Linked DNA regions of Homo sapiens: all the other regions are linked to region 3. The links are contacts of gene promoters, found by promoter capture Hi-C in blood cells and fetal thymus (Javierre and others, 2016). All regions are on one chromosome and are shown on one strand. The core of a region is centred on a gene start or on the middle of the fragment in contact, and the rest is flanking DNA. Distances in the headings are between cores, read along the strand shown. Region 1 has its middle 7.5 kb from the start of TAF1A. Region 2 holds the start of GPATCH2 (G-patch domain containing 2). Region 3 holds the start of EPRS1 (glutamyl-prolyl-tRNA synthetase 1). Region 4 overlaps AIDA (axin interactor, dorsalization associated). Region 5 overlaps BROX (BRO1 domain and CAAX motif containing). Region 6 overlaps MIA3 (MIA SH3 domain ER export factor 3).

Region 1 (2,700 bases), core at 201-2,700, 2.6 Mb after region 3:
CAGTCATGTGCTGCCTGTTTATCAATGCCTGAAAACAGTTGCTTTAAGTAGTTTTTCTAGTTTCTTACTCTTTTGTGACAGGAAGGCAAGTCCAGTACCAGGTAACTCAGTCATGGTTCAAAGTGAACGTACTAACTTCCTTATACACTTTTCCATCATTTGTGATGGAGACACTCATTAAACAGGGCAAATTATAGAGAAACTCTGTAGTGTCTCTTTTAATGTCCATGGAAACCAAAATCAGGTGAAGGAGTAAACCAACATGGGTCTATGAAAAATAAGCTGGCCAAAATTTGTGAGGTAATGTGACTTAAATGATCATATGTTTTACCAATAGTTTTATGAGCATGAAATCCACAATAACTAGAAAAATAAACGTTAATAGATGGACTCAAAACTTTTTACTGCAATTCAATATACAGTCTTTTATGATACTTTAATATATTAGATGATAGTTCTGAAATTATTATAAAATACTAGTGAACATAACAGATTAAAGCATTCTTTCCAACTATTTTGAAAACCATTGTCATTTTCTACAACCCAAAGATTAGATACACCTTAAAATGCCCTAGAAAAGACATTTCTTAAACCTCAACAAAATGAACTTCATTCGTTGTTTTTCACCTTTGACGTGACACCGTGCCAAGATTTCTAGCCCTGTATGGAGGAGACGTTGGTCCCAACAATTAGCAGCTCCTTGATCCCATTTCATACAACCCATTCTAGCAATAAAAAAAGAAAAAATGCACATGTATTCTGCTGACATTTCATTTACAATCTATATCAGGAGTCAGCAAACATTTTCTGTAGATACAGAGAATAAATATTTTAGATTTACCTGTCATACAGTCTTTGTCATAACCACTCTGCTGTTATATAGCATTAAAATAACCACAGACAATATGTAAATGAATGAGCATGTCTGTGTTCTATTGAAACTTTGTTTACAAAAACAGATGTGAGGCTGGATTTAGCTCGTGGGCCATAGTTTGCTAACCATTGCTCTGGAGTACCTATAAATGTTTATGCTCACAATAGAGCATAAACATTTGGTTGTGCTATATATCTAAATATGTATATATATACATATATACATAAATATAATTTTAAAGATACATAGCCATATTGGTGGTGATTTTTGTGTCCAAAAAGAGATTCACTAAAAAAATTACTGATGTCATCATGCATCTCCATCATTATGACAGTCATTAACTCTACATTGCTTCTTCTGCAATCTCTAACATACAATTAGTAGATGTCAATGCTAGAAGTGAGTTTGCTGTTCTGTAGTGAAGGGCACTGATTATAATGGGGTAAATGAGATCAACCATCATGAATTGATACATATTTATTTAATTTCAATTTCAATTGTCATTCTAATGACTATGTACTACGTCTCAACCTATATTCCCTAGGTCCTAATTGAGAAACATGTGCTTTAATTAAAGAAAAAGTCCTTCACATCCATTCCAAATAGGTCAAATTGTATCCATGGTTCAACTATTAATGCACACACACACACTAACAATAGAACTCATTAAGATGTAAATTCGAGGTAAGATAGTGCAGAAGAGGGAATAAATGTGGGAATATGGAAGTAGAACAATATAAGACCCCTTTTGTGTTCTTTTTTTAACTTTTATTTTCGTTTCAGTGGGTACATGCGCAGGTTTGTTATATAGGTAAATTGTGTGTCCCAGAGGTTTGGTGCACAGATTATTTCAACACCCAACTAATAAATAAGCATAGTACCTGATAGGTAATTTTTCAATCCTCATTCTACTTCCACCCTCCACCCTCAAGTAGCCCGTGGTGTTCTTAATTTGTGCCCATGTGTACTCAATGTTTAGCTGCCATTTATGAGTGAGAACATACAGTAATTGGTTTTCTGTTTCTGCATTAGTTAGCTTAGGGTAATGGCCTCCAGCTCTATCCATGTTGCTGCAAAGAACATGATCTCATTCTTTCTTATGGCTGCATAGTATTCCGTGGTCTTCCATGGTATTCCATTTTCTTATCCACCCTACCATTGTATAAGTATTCCCTTTTCTCTGCGACCTCACCAGCATCTTTTATTTTTTGACTTTTTAATAATAGATAGGATCCCTTTTGGAGGTCAGGAAATATAAATTCAGAAGTGTGAGACATCCTTTAAGGTGATGTTAGCTTTAAATGAAAAAAAAATTGTGAAGCAAAGTCACTTGAATCTAGAAAGACTTTTGTGTGAGACATCCTTTAAGGTGATGTTAGCTTTAAATGAAAAAAAAAATTGTGAAGCAAAGTCACTTGAATCTAGAAAGACTTTTGAGTTTCTTTGGGTTTTATTGTTTTTGTTTTTACATTGATGTTATAATCTTTTCCTTTTTGCTGGTAAAAGAAACTACAGAAAACAGAATATTTACAACCACAGGTGCTTTGTTAACTGATCAAATTTTAAGAAAAGTCTCAAGCAGTGCATCTCATACTGGGAGGGTGGTATCATTCCCACCAAGGGGGGTTTGGAAATGCATGGGAGCAATTTTTATTTTGCTATCATGACTAGGGATGCTACGAAAAGTTCATGGCCAGGGCATGGATGTTACACATTTGCACAAATAACATGCTCTGGTCCTTTACCTAACTGTAACTGTGTTTTCCTACAGTTCTGTCTAAAGGGATAAGGGCTTTCCCGAAGTCACATTATTTTCTTATCCATTT
Region 2 (2,700 bases), core at 99-2,598, 2.4 Mb before region 3:
TAAAAACTGGTTCATTTAAAAAATGCTCCCTACTTTTCTCACTGGAAAATGTAATAATTTACAAATAGTATAATCAAATCTATATTCACTATAAAATTAACTACAGGATGATCAGGTCCAACTAGAAATATTTTGGATAAGGTATTCTTTTAACTTTTCAGTGATAGGTGATGGAAAAGCAATTATCTGAGATCACAGACTACTAGAATTCCTCATGTTCTAATTTTTGCAGAATCTAGGAATGAACACGCACCATTTAGCCACATTTCTTTCACCTGTTGGTCAGAACTTTATGTTTGAGGATTTTCAATGGGAAATTGCTTGTTTGTGTCACTGGTTGTCTTATGTTATGTTTGGAGGAAAAGGGCTTGGGAGAAAAACAGGACAGATAATACAGAGTGTTCAACTAGAAATCCCCAAATCAGGATTCTAGCTCTAGGATTAAAATGTACAGGGCAACTTTGGACACGGTACTTGAATTTTCTGTGCTTGTGATATTCTGCTATCACAAGGCTGTCATAGGATAAAGTGTATTAATTTGTGGAAATACTTTGAAAAGTCAAAGCAATATATTATTCTAACATGATACCATAGACATAGTCAAGCCCCAAACTTAATCCTGACAGTTATAGGTTCTTGGAAAGCCCCCATACATATCTCACTTTAACTTGAATAGAATGTTCAAGAGGGTGGAAACAGGTAGGTTACCCTCTCTCTTTAAAAAAGGGGGTGAGAGGGTGATGTGTTTTCCACGATTGAACTTCCAGAACTCTAGATTTCTGGAATTTATCTTCCAAAAGACTTGGTATAATCTGGTAAATATTGAAAGAGGAGTGGGGAATAAGGCCCGGATTAAGATAAATTCTTCCTGTCCCTAGTGTTGTCAACAATCAATGAGGAGATGAATTGCTCCTGGAGTACAGGAAGCTTGACTTCTAAAATATTGTTAAACAAGCAATCAGAAAACATTTACTGTATTCTTTCACAAATCTTTGGCACACACCCAAGAGCTCCCTCAAACTGCGTGCATCCCAGGAATGAGTGAGAGCAAGGCCTAGATGTCTTCAGATCATCCATCACAGCTCCCTCCCGCCTCCATTCCAGGTCCAGCGGAGCGGCCTCGGGCAATCACACCCTTCCCTGACCTCCCCCTCCCCAGGGCCGCCAGCCTCACCAGCTGTTCCCGGCTGCTGGAGCTCCGATCGGTTGGCGCCCGGCGGCCCCGAACATTAACGACACCCGGGAGCCTGGCCTCGAAGCTCAGGCCCGTGAACAGACTCCAACTACAACAGCACCGGCGACTTCCAAAGAGCAGTTCAGCATTTTGAGATGAGCTTCCGGAAGCCGACAGGCGGCGGAAACCGGATGCCCGGAGCAACCATTAGTTCTCCGCGTTTACTGCTTTCCCCTTCCTATAATCCCCTCTTCCTACTCGCAGTAGAGACAGAGACAAATAAATTAAACTTTTGTGCTACACAGAAATTTCTTAATTCTCTTTTTAGTGCTCTTAAAGTCAAAGCAGCATGAGAGAAAAGAGGAGTGAACAAAAAGTCGAACCCCGGGAGTGAGCTATGGTTTAGCCCAGTTACCATGGAGACCGGTAGTAACACCAGTTGTAAACCCAAGGCCAAGAGACCATGGCCACGTTAGCCCGGCTGCAAGCTAGGTCGTCGACTGTAGGAAATCAGTACTACTTTAGGAACAGGTAAGTCAGGAAGAGAAGGATCGCGTAAAGGGCGGGCGTGACTTTATACCAGTTGTTCCTCAGCGGGAGTTTCCAATTAACGATTTAACGATTACCCTAATTCATTAAGTAGTACCCAATTCTTCCCTTAATGGGCTGCAAACATAATTGGGAGTTTCTGTTACCATACAACGAAATTCTAAATAGAGAGGGGCCGTAGATATTCAGTGTGAGATGATTTAAGGAAACTCCCAGCATAGATAAAATTGTAAAGTGCTTTTTTTCTTCGACATCACCACTCTGCAATTTGATGAAACCTATGTTCAATACCCTGACTGGGGGTCACCCTGACTCACTAGCCCAATGAACTCAGATTGTGTCCCATCTACCTAGGGATTTGAGCCTCCGTTATTTTACAAACATCACTAAACTCAATTGTTCTATGACTCATTCGCCTTTTTAAAATGAACGTATCTGCCGGGTGTGGTGGCTCACGCCTGTAATCCCAGCACTTTGGGAGGCCGAGGGGGGCGAATCACCTGAGGCCAGGAGTTCTAGACCAACCAGGACAACATGGTGAAACCCCGTCTCTATTAAAAATACAAAAACTAGCCGGGCATGGTGGCACATGCCTGTCATCCCAGCTAGTCCGGAGGCTGAGGCAGGAGAATCGCTTGAACCTGGGAGGCAGAGGTTGCAGTGACCCGACATTGTACCACTGCACTCCAGCCTGGGTGACAAATTAAGACCCTGTCTCAATAAATAAATAAATAAATATAAATAAAATAAAATAAAATGAAAGTGTCTAAACCATTCTGACACGGTAACTAGTACCAATATATTAATTAATAGATAACGGGTAAGAAAACCACTAGCAGTCTTCTTCATCTCCCTACAGCCAAACTTCTTGCCCAGGAAGAGTTTCATTTTAAAGAAGCATTGCCCCAGGAGTTTTTGTAACTTAAAAGAAACTGCAAAAAAGTGAATTAGACTATTATGGAATACAGTGACATGAC
Region 3 (2,700 bases), core at 153-2,652:
TGAATAATTTCATCAGCCCCACGTGGTCAACTGTATATAAAGGTATGGGCTTCTTCAACATTAGAAAGTACTGTGTGTGTATTATCATACATATGCATTAACAAATATTAGGTCAGGCTGGGTACTGTGGCTCACGCCTGTAATCCTAGTACTTTGGGAGGCCAAGTCAGGATGGCTTGAGCCCAGGAGTTTGAGACCTGCCTGGGCAACACAGTGAAACGCCATCTTTCCAAAAAAGACACAAACACAAAATTAGCCAGGCATGGTGGCACGCGCCTGTAGTCCCAGCTACTAAGGAGGCTGAGGTGGGAGGATCATCTGAGCCCGGAAGTTCGATGCTGCAGTGAGCCTTGAAAGCGCCACTGCACTCCAGCCTGGACGATAGAGCAAGACCCTGACTCTCAAAAGAAAAAAAAAAATCGGCAAACTACTTAAATTCTTCTGTGTAATTTCCCAAAGTAATGAAAAAGCAGAAATTCTAAGCAATCTACCAACAATAATCTTGGTCATGTCGAAAAAATAATTCCAAACAGAACTTAAGATGTGTCAGTAAGGTGACAGATCCAATGTTTACTCTGAAATTTACTACACATCCACAGGGTGCAGTAAAAGCAACCGCATCAGTCTACAGTGTACCTGGGTGTTTTCCCCAATTACCCTACCACATTTAATTAAAAATAAATGCAGCCTCAGTTGAAATCCTAAATGCTAATATGCTCGTCTGGGTTATTTCTTCTGAACTCGATAAAACGTAAGGAAAATTTGACTCAAGTGAACTGAGGATTTCTCCTGAGAGGAGGGACAGGACAGGAAAGGAGGTAAGAAAAGGAGTTGGGGGAAAAATGCTAAAAGAGAAGCGACGACTATTGGATTTTAAGTTTTAAAATCTTATTTCCACGAGCAACTCTCGCTCTCCGGGGGAAAAAGGGAGAGGTGAGTTGACTGGGAGTTCATCCCTCTGAGAAAAAGATCCGAAGCGGAGTCTCGTGTTGTCTAGCCCGGGCTCACACTGCGCCTCCCTCCATGCCCGGGAAAACCATCTTCAGGAGCAGATGCACCTGCCGGGGACACGGGGCGAGGGGTGCGGAGCCTCCTCCACGTACAATTCTGGGGCGAGGGGCAGGTCCAACATCCCAGATGGTGACCACCACTGCGCAAAGCCGGGGCGCAGCGACCTTCCACGCCCTGCACCCTCCCTGGCTGATGCAACCCACACAGGTCATTGGTCTCGGCCCCTTACCTAGCGGAGGGTCTCCTGAATTCACGGTCAGAGAGAGCGTCGCCATCTCCACCAGTCCGCTGGTCCACCTGTCAGTACGCCTGGCTCGTGCCAGAACTACGGAGGACCCCGCGAAAGGAAGAAGATGCAACGTGTGCGCGTACCCGACGCCGCCGCAGCCTTCGCTCCGCCCCTGCGCCGCAGCTACTGCCGACACCGCGCACGCCGCGGTGCGACATCGTCGCGCGCCGTCTTCGTCCCCGCCCGCAGGTTCCAGAGCCTGCTACCCCTCCTCTTGGCCGCCAGGGTTAGAACGGCCTGCGTGGCCTTTCGTGCTGCGGTGGGAAAGACGCTGAAGTGGACGGGACTTTACGACACTTCGTCAAGTCAGCAGGTCGTAAAACAGCAGGTTGTAAAACCATCTTTAAGATGGGATAGGCGTTTATGTGAAGCACGAAACAAAAGCATGCACTGTCTTTATGTAAAAAGAAAAGTCCTGGAAGCATACACACGATAGCCATGATTACGTTGGGAATGGGAGAAGTTTTTCTCGTTGTTTATTTTATACATTCCCCCCCGTTTTTTTTTTTCCAAAACAAGAACGTATTTTCAAGAGTTATTTGCGTGTTGAAAATAATGGTTAAAGGAAATATAAAAGACTCTTTAAAAATCACTGCAGGCCGGGCGTGGTGGCTCACGCCTGTAATCTCAGCACTTTAGAAGGTGTAGGCGGGCGGATCACCTGAGGTCAGGAGTTCGAGACCAGTCTGGCCAGCATGGTGAAACCCCATCTCTACTAAAAATACAAAAATTAGCCTGGCATGGTGGTGGGCCCCTGTAATCCCAGCTACTTGGGAGGCTGAGGCAGGAGAATCGCTTGAACCTGGGAGGTGGAGGTTGCAGTGAGCCGAGATCGTGCTACTGCATCCAGCCTGGGCGACAGAGTGAGACTCCTTCTCGAAAAGAAAAAAAAAAAAAATCACAGCAGAGGCCGGGCGCGGTGGCTCAGGCCTGTAATCCCAGCACTTTGGGAGGCCGGAGGCGAGCGGATCTCGAGGTCAGGAGTTGGAGACCAGCTTCACCAACATGGTGAAACTGTAGAGACGGGGGTCTCTACTAAAAGTACAAAAATTAGCCGGGAATGGTAGCGCGCACCTTTAATCCTAGCTACTTGGGGAGCTGAGGCAGGAGAATCGCTTGAACCCGGGAGGAGGAGGTTGCGGTGAGCCGAGATCGCGGCACTGCACTCCAGCCTGGGCGACAGACTGAGACCCCGTTTCAAAACAAACAAAAAATCACTGCAGATAGGCGCAGTGGCGCGCTCCTGTAGTCTCAGCTATTAAGAAGGCTGAGGCAGGATCGCCTGAGCCCAGGAAGATGAGGCTGTAGTGGCCTCGCCGTGGACTTGCCTGTGAGTAGCCACTACCCTCCAGCCTGGCCGACACAGGGAGAGACCTGATCTAAAAAACAAAACAAAAAAA
Region 4 (2,700 bases), core at 42-2,541, 2.6 Mb after region 3:
GGGATTCCAATGTCCTTTAAAAACAGGATTTACCTTAAACTTTACATAGGGTTTTCCTTCCACTAGTACTACTAATTATACTTTAGGAGGATGCGGAGAAGGGGAGAGGTGAGTTTATAATTTCACAGAAGGTATTAAATGAACACAAAGTACATCATGGGTTGGGGACTCACTGGCTCATTCAGTAGACTCTACACACTGAGGACCTCTGAATGGCAGACGTGGGGATGTACCCTACTAGTAAAAACTCTGCACTCCTAGCCTGCTCTCACGGAGCACAGACCTGCCACCCTCCTGAAGCTTACACTCTAGAAATGACACACACACAAATATCAACATGTGTTCTCTTTGCCACTGACTTGTTTCATTTTTGTGGTAGGCAAAATGGGTAACTGTTCCCATCTGAAAGATTATTTTTTAATTATGAGAAGTTTCCCTGAAGACATTCAATTCTATTCAATGTAACAAAATTTGCCATGCCCATATTACATACAAAGCACTGAATCAGGCTCTGTGGGAAAAATACAAAGGTTATTCACAATCTCTTTGAGGAGTGAAATGAATACAGGGCAAACAATGAAGATGGATATAAAAAGTGTTACTATAAAAGATAGGAAGCCGAGTTTAATATGGCTAGGGGAACAGAGAAAGATGGGACATCTGAGGGACTTTGAAGGATGAATTTATGGAAGGGAATTTTACAGGGTCATGAAGAGATATGTTTGAGTAAGAAGTAGTATGTGACTGAGGATTATTATAAGCAAATTAAATGTATTTTCACCATCAGTATGAATTTCAGACATGATTTTCAAGAGATTTTTTAAAACTGAAGAATACATCAGCAAAACAACCAACCTAGTCCAACATACTGCAAGTTATAGTCATTAATTTTCCTTAGAAGTGGCTACTAAGGGCTGAAGTGAAACAGAGCAAATCATTTCAGCTTTGTTCAACTATAAAGTGAGAGAACTCAACTATATGACTCTTAAAACTCCTTTCTGTTCTAAAATGCTATGATTTTATGATTCCCTACTTAGATATTTGACTTAGATGGATAAATAGACTCTATATACATAATAATGTTAAGATGTGCAGTCTTGTCTCAATGAAAAATGAGAATATTGATTTATATTCATTTAGTTTTATATTCAACTCTTGTGCATTTGCCCATATTGCAAAGAACATTCATCTAAACCAGCAAAAAAGCTTTATTTGGCAGCATACTAACCATCAAAACATTTGAAGAAATTATTTACTTCAAAAGAGTTTTAAGGAGAAAGGAAAATGAAGACAACAAAAAAAATATTTTGCAGAGCAGCTCCAACAGCTGGACTGTAGTTTTCAATGACATGTAGTGTAAATGGGAATCAATGACTAAAGCTTTATATTCTCCAATAGATGCTGCTGCAAATGTTTACCAAAGTAATTGTGGTTTTATTAAAGTGAGTAAGACAAAATAAAGGCTAATACATATTTAGATGAGGTACAACCTCATATATTCTACAACGAAGGTAAAATCCAAAAAATAATTACTACAAATGTTACAGAAGTAACAAAAGCACCCAAAAAATCACATAGGACTAGATATTAACAGAAATAAATCAAATCATAATCTTTGTTAAATAGCCTTAACATCTACAATAGATTATTTTTCCAAAGGAGTATCACAAAAAAATATAAACTTAAACTTACTTGGTTCTAGCTTCTTCAGGTCCTCCAGTTTAAATTCTTCTTGAGACTGTGTGGACTAAATTTAAAATAAGCATATTACATCTTTTCACTACAAGGATTTCACTGCACCCTGTCTTTTAAGTGGCAAGAACCAAATATTCAAAAGGATTCTATTTCTTGCTTTCAAGGTAGAAAATGAAAAGTCCCAAACTGGTTTTTGTTTATTTTTGGAACACTCAGGCCAAAAATAACAGAAAAAATTGAAGTCATATCTTTTATTTTACAATTTACGAAATATGAACTAAAAAAGTATGAATTTAATAGATGTTGTTATAAAACACTTCTGAGACAATACTGCTTTTGACATAAATGTCTAATGTTTTATCACAATAATGCAGAATAATTTATTTTCCTTGTATTACAGAAGAGAAAAACTCCTTACCTGTAAAGCTGCACTTCGCAATTCCAAGCATGTTGCAATTTTGCCTATGGTTTTCTGCAGGGGAATAAAAAAAGCTATAAATACCAGAATTATCATAACTGTTAGTTCAAATCATCAAGTTAATTTTTATTAATAAAAGATCCATAATTCTCTTAAGTAAGTTAAATTTTATTTCTTTCTAGCATCTTTCAGACTCTAGAGAAAAGAAATAAGAGGCAAAGGGTTGGGATGAGGGAGAGAAGGTGAGTATATATTCTCCCCTGACCTAATGTGCCACAACTAATTCTAAATCAAGTTTGCTTTGATGACAGCTGTAGATATGATTTAAAGGGCTGCCTGGTATCTTCTGTTCCAAGCTTCACCTTTTCTTCTCCATAAAGCCTAAAATTCACCTTTTAAAAGGCTTAAAAATATCTGAAAGTTAGCACAATGGTATAATTAATTTAATTCTGACTTAAGTCCAACACCAACTTGTTTAATATATAGGCAACACTAAGCAAAACTGGTATTTGTGATAAACGGTAGTAAATTTTATAGTTGGATCTGTTTCATATAACATGAGCTATAAAATGGATATTAATGATAGG
Region 5 (2,700 bases), core at 88-2,587, 2.7 Mb after region 3:
TCGTTTTTCTTTATTTCAAACTCTAGTCTTCCTCTGAAAATGGCTGGGCTGGTGGCTTATGCCTGTAATCCCAGCAATTTGGGAGGCCGAGGCAGGAGAATTGCTTGAGCCCAGGAGTTTGAGACCAGCCTGGGCAGTATGGCAAGACCTCCATCTCTACAAAAAGTTATTTAAAAAATTAGCCAGTTGGCTGGGTGTGGTGGTGGCTCACGCCTGTAATCTCAGCACTTTGGGTGGCCGAGGCAGGCAGATCACCTGAGGTTGGGAGTTCGAGACCAGCCTGACCAACATGGAGAAACCCCATCTCCACTAAAACATACAAAATTAGCTGGGCATGGTGGCGTATGCCTGCAATCCCAGCTACTCAGGAGGCTGAGGCAGGAGAATCGCTTGAACCTGGGAGGCGGAGGTTGTGGTGAGCCGAGATCGTGCCATTGCACTCTAGCGTGGTCAACAAGAGTAAAACTCCATCTCAAAAAAAAAAAAAAGAAATTAGCCAGGTGCCATGGCATGCATGTGTAGTCTCAGCCACTCAGGAGACTGAGGCAGCAGGATCACTTGAGCCTGAGAGTTTGAGGCTGCAGTAAGCCATGATCAAGCCACTGCACTCCATCCTGGGTGACAGCAAGACCCTGTCTCAGAAAAAAAGAATTTGCTGTTAGGTCATGCTGTTTTGTAATAGTGATTCTCTATGATTAGCTGGTAATTTGCTGATGATTTATTTAAAGAAATGGCATTGGAACCAACAAACTCAGTGTTTTTTTGTTAATGTTTGCATTTTCTATAAGTTTGCACGTTAAAACGTTTAACAAACTGTATTAAAATCCCAGAGAGATTATCAGACTGTCTTTTGCTATTATAATTGAATTTAGGATGAATAAAGTGAGCTTAATTATAGATTCACTTTATTGTGTTTGGTTACAGTAACAATTGCTCGAGCAATTGAACTAAAACATGCTCCTGGACTAATTGCTGCACTGGCGTATGAAACAGCCAATTTCTATCAAAAAGCTGGTAAGCTTCTAATTCTGTCGTTACATTTTTAGTCTTTAGATTTTCAGATTTATTTGATCTTGAATAGGGAACAAAACAAAAGGGTTCTCAGATTCTGTCATTATTTGCAAAACTGGAGTAATATTTTATTTATTGCATTTAAAATAGAGCTGTTCATGTTTAGTATGCTGCATAACTTCTAATGGAGGGGAAAACCAGTGATGTCTCATAAAATTATACAGCTTTTTTGCTTAAAATTTTTTTTTAGTGTTTATAACAACCTTATAGTTACTATGCTTTAGACAAGAATCCAAAATCCAGAGAGTTAACATGACCCATAATTCAACTGCTAGAAAGTGGGAGATTGGGCGTAGAACACAGCTCCTGTGATAAGCCTATTACTCTTCATTTACTTATTTAGGAAACATGCATGTGTTTTTATTTATGGGATAGTTACTGTTTTTGTTGCTAAGGAGAGGTAAATAGAAAAGATCTGCAGTTTAGGGAAGAAGACAAACATGTAACCCCGTTATTATATCCTGAAGTAAGACATCACAGCGGCGAATTAGGAACCTTAACAAGCTGGGCATGCTAAAGAAGGACTCTAGAAGAAGATGCTTTAGCCTTATTGTGAAGTGTAAATAAAAGTCTTATGTTCCCTAGGAAGCTTTAGAGTTTGGGTGTAGAATTCTATAGTAAGTACAGACATAAGAAAGAACTTAGCACATTCTGGAAACTTCAGACAGTGACCTGAAACACAGGATGAGTGGTAGGAGAAGAGTTTGAAAAAGTATGCATGCTTGGAATCAAACACTGGTTTGTAAGCCATTCTGTAGATACTTGGGAATGTATCTACATTAAAAGCCTGACTTGATTGGATTTGAATTTAAGAAAGGTCCCTATAGTTGCAGTATTAGAGATAGGCTTGCTACATGAAGGAGTAATAGGCTAACTTAACTTAGCACTTAAGAAATTCTTAAAGTTTATGAAGGAAATGATGAAAGCTTTGGCAAATACAGCAACGTAGCAAATAGGAAAAAATAGATTTGAGAGATGTTTGGTAGAAGGATATGTGAGTGAATGTGTGTGTGTTTCACATAAAATTCAGTGATGGGGGTAGAGAGGAGAGTATCCTATTTCTGATTTGAGTGACTAGACTACTATTTGTTTTGCTATATTATATAAGTTTTTTAAATTAGCTAATATAACGGTATAAACAGTATTCACCTTGAAGTTCTTGGTCACAATCTGTTTTTATCATTATCTTTAACTTAAAGTTGTATTAACCATCAAATCAAAGAGCTGCCATAGTATTTAACCAATCTTATGTAACTTAAAGTATAGATTTGGTAAAATCAAGTAAAGGTGTTTTTAAAAAAAAATTAAATTCTTGAGTTTTAGACTTGAATGGCATTCTTTCTGCTTTTATCATCAGAACACATGAACTAAAAGTCTTCTAGTGAATCAGGGCGAAATTATATTTTGCTTTTTAAAATGTAACTTTAGATCATACTTTATCCAGTTTGGAGCCTGCATATTCTGCCAAATGGAGAAAATATCTTCACTTGAAGATGTGTTTCTACACAGCTTATGTAAGTATTCACAACGCTAAAAACAATGTAAATTATTGTTTCTCCAGCCCTTGGAGTGCCAGGTCTCTCATCTCACCAGAGTCTTTCATTAGCATTTTACAAATAATGGACAGCT
Region 6 (2,700 bases), core at 199-2,698, 2.6 Mb after region 3:
TTCTTTCCTTTCTAACCAGTAGTCAAAAACTGTTGCCTGTAACTCACTTAAGGGGGAGCAGTGTACTGGTACTGACGGTCGCTGCTGTGGGAGTGCTTCTCTTTTGAAGATCTGGCCATGCCTTGTCTGTGGCTCCGCCACTTGTTTCACTTTCCTTTCTTTGTGGTCAATTATGTAATTTCCTTTAAACAGTCTGAGGGATTTGTATGACGTGTTTTAGTAGAATAAAAACTTCAAAAAAGGAAAATTTACTTATTGAAGGTACATTTAGTTTTGGACTTCACAGAGTAAAATATTCAAACTAAACATAATTGTGGCAAAGATATTAGGAGTTTTGAATGTAGAACTATTTGGTGTGTATATTTAGATAATAATCCTCTGAAATACATATCTCAAATTTCGAGCGAGGTACCTTTTGAGAGGTATATTTTTATAGTTCAAGTTTTTTGTCCACAAAAACATCTGAATTCTCTAAAAATAGGTTATCTGTGGCAGTTGCTATTTGTGTTTGCTCTTATGTTTTACTCTTTGGTGTATATGGCAGTGTGTGAGGAGGCCTCTCTTGCTAAGCAAATTTAACTTTTTTAAATGCTTAGACTGCTACTGCTGTATGCCATTAAATATTGAAACCATACCATTAACTTTTTCTCTAATTCTTTGCTCACCAGGCAGCCAGTTTAGATTTTCCAGGTTTTGTTCAGGCCAGCTCTAAATAAATGCCTGTCCTGCTTCAGAGAGACATTCCTCATTTCATTACTTTTTAAAAAAGAGCACTTCTCTGCCTCCAATAGTAATGTGAATTACGTAAATGGCAACTGTTTTTCTTCGTGATACAGTTAACCCATTGATGTGGCAGTGTTTTATTCAACTTCCCCAAAATTCATTCAGTCTCCATGTGTGGTTTGTACTCTACTGTCCACCCCTAAAGTCACTGTGTTAATTCAGGCCCTTGTCATCTTTTATGCCAGTCCCCTAGCTAATCACGTATCTCCAGACTTTCTTTCCCTTTTTTTTTTTTTTTTTTTTTTTTGAGACAGAGTCTCACTCTGCCGCCCAGGCTGGAGTGCAGTGGCGTGGTCTCAGCTTACTGCAAGCTCCGCCTCCCAGGTTCATGCCATTCTCCTGCCTCAGTCTCCCGAGTAGCTGGGACTACAGGCGCCCGCCACCATGCCCGGCTAATTTTTTTTGTATTTTTAGTAGAGATGGGGTTTCACCTGTGTTAGCCAGGATGGTCTCAATCTCCTGACCTCGTGATCCACCCGCCTCGGCCTCCCAAAGTGCTGGGATTACAGGTGTGAGCCACCGCGCCCGGCCAAAGAATATACTTTAATGCAGGTTCAGTGAGTTTACTTTTGTATGAAAATGTCTTTAGTTTGACTCCATTTTAAAAGGATCTTTCTGCTGGTTCTGGAATTTCGATAGTTGTTTAGTATCAGCACTTTAAAGATAACCAGTTATCCTCTAGTTTTAAAGTTTCTTTGAGGAATCTATTATCATTCTTATTTTCTCTTTTCTCTTTTTTCAAATGTTTTATGCCTGCCCTAGCTGCCTTTCGTCATTTTCTTTTTGGTTTTTCAGCAGTTTTCTTGGGAGGTGCCTACATGTAGGGTTTTGTCATCACCCTTCCACCCTACCCTCCTGCTTTTTCTTTTGCATTTATACTGCTTGAGGTTATAAACATCTCTTGAGTTTGGAGCCTCTTTTTTCACATATTAATTCTATCTTATTCTCACTTGTCCTGAGAATCCAATTCAACATACTAGGATCTCCCACCCCTACCCCTCGCCCAATGCCTCCTACATTCTGAATATGCTTCATTCTGGATGTTTTCTTCTGACCTATCTTCCAATGTGCTAAAAATCTCACCTCAGTTGTCTAATCTGCTAAAATCATTGAGTTCTTTTTGGTTTCACTATTTTTCACTTTTATAGTTTCTAATCCTCTGCTGAAATGTGTAATCTTGACTTGTACTTCCTTCAATTTGTAAGGCACAATTGCTTTAAAATCTATGTGGTAATCCTATTATGTGGATCCCTTATGAGTGTGTTTCTCTGGTCTTCTAGATTGTGATTACATTGTCTTGTCTTGTGGAATGTCTGGTTGGTTTTGATGGAGTGGTGAACATTGTTTTTGAAAATTGTAGGGGAAATTTGAGGTCTAAGATGATGTTATCATCCTACATAAAAGATATGAGATTACCTCTAGCAGGTGGTCATTACTTTATTCCAGTTAGCAATTAAAATCATTCAAAAATGGCTTAGTTCCTTTAAAGGACATTGTATTTATTGCCTGTTCAATACTCCAAGTGTGCAGCTCTTTTCTGGTCTCAACCCAAAGCCTAGGGCTTTTACTAGGGGTCCTTCTCATTGGCAGCCCTGAACTCCCTCCGCTTCTTGTTTCTCTCAACCCAGGGATCTGTTGAAAGTTCTTTTCAACCTTCTTACATATCTGCATTGTCTTCAATGCATGGATGAACCTGGGGGGAAATGGCTTAAAATGCCGGGCTTACTTATAATTCTGTGTTTTTTCCTACTGGATTTTCTTCACTGCCTTATTAGCTTTCTGATGCCTTCGAGCACATTCTTTCTATTTTTGTCCATATGTTCTTATTTTCAGTGTTTGCAGACTAACTCATCCATTATTGGAAACAAAATTCTCTTGAATCCTTCTTCAAGACTTGTTTTTTCCACATCCCTTCCT

What was found. The method cuts DNA at HindIII sites, captures the fragments that hold promoters and counts their contacts. A CHiCAGO score of 5 or more calls a contact.
Region 1: a fragment that was not itself captured here is called in contact with the fragment with the promoter of EPRS1 in region 3 in 1 of 17 cell types (neutrophils); the score reaches 5.4 in neutrophils.
Region 2: a contact is called between the fragment with the promoter of GPATCH2 here and the fragment with the promoter of EPRS1 in region 3, in 1 of 17 cell types (naive CD8 T cells). The highest score is 6.3, in naive CD8 T cells.
Region 4: a fragment that was not itself captured here is called in contact with the fragment with the promoter of EPRS1 in region 3 in 1 of 17 cell types (M2 macrophages); the score reaches 10.3 in M2 macrophages.
Region 5: a contact is called between a fragment that was not itself captured here and the fragment with the promoter of EPRS1 in region 3, in 1 of 17 cell types (M2 macrophages). The highest score is 6.6, in M2 macrophages.
Region 6: a fragment that was not itself captured here is called in contact with the fragment with the promoter of EPRS1 in region 3 in 1 of 17 cell types (monocytes); the score reaches 5.9 in monocytes.

What each region holds. Positions count from the first base shown.
Region 1 is chr1:222,596,125-222,598,824 of GRCh38, forward strand. No RefSeq gene overlaps it. Among named protein-coding and RNA genes, the nearest start is that of TAF1A, 7.5 kb to the left of the region's middle. The HindIII fragment of the contact is 3,112 bases long and covers 1-2,700 here.
Region 2 is chr1:217,629,742-217,632,441 of GRCh38, forward strand. It overlaps GPATCH2 (G-patch domain containing 2), which reads right to left and starts at 1,349. Exons shown (of 10, transcript NM_018040.5): 1 at 1,175-1,349. The coding sequence starts at 1,230. SPATA17 (spermatogenesis associated 17) reads left to right here and starts at 1,603. Exons shown (of 11, transcript NM_138796.4): 1 at 1,603-1,705. The coding sequence starts at 1,638. RefSeq lists enhancers at 1,288-1,357, 1,388-1,627. The HindIII fragment of the contact is 9,292 bases long and covers 926-2,700 here.
Region 3 is chr1:220,045,103-220,047,802 of GRCh38, forward strand. EPRS1 (glutamyl-prolyl-tRNA synthetase 1) reads right to left here and starts at 1,403. Exons shown (of 32, transcript NM_004446.3): 1 at 1,241-1,403. The coding sequence starts at 1,286. RefSeq lists enhancers at 556-1,113, 1,155-1,484, 1,545-1,614. The HindIII fragment of the contact is 10,455 bases long and covers 1-2,700 here.
Region 4 is chr1:222,692,097-222,694,796 of GRCh38, forward strand. It overlaps AIDA (axin interactor, dorsalization associated), which reads right to left. Exons shown (of 10, transcript NM_022831.4): 3 at 2,114-2,167; 4 at 1,693-1,747. Among named protein-coding and RNA genes, the nearest start is that of AIDA, 19 kb to the right of the region's middle. RefSeq lists an enhancer at 2,396-2,565. The HindIII fragment of the contact is 174 bases long and covers 1,205-1,378 here.
Region 5 is chr1:222,726,244-222,728,943 of GRCh38, forward strand. It overlaps BROX (BRO1 domain and CAAX motif containing), which reads left to right. Exons shown (of 13, transcript NM_144695.4): 8 at 925-1,014; 9 at 2,500-2,585. Among named protein-coding and RNA genes, the nearest start is that of FAM177B, 9.6 kb to the right of the region's middle. The HindIII fragment of the contact is 641 bases long and covers 1,018-1,658 here.
Region 6 is chr1:222,654,958-222,657,657 of GRCh38, forward strand. All of the region lies in intron 18 of MIA3 (MIA SH3 domain ER export factor 3), which reads left to right. Among named protein-coding and RNA genes, the nearest start is that of MIA3, 38 kb to the left of the region's middle. RefSeq lists an enhancer at 15-254. The HindIII fragment of the contact is 3,961 bases long and covers 1-2,700 here.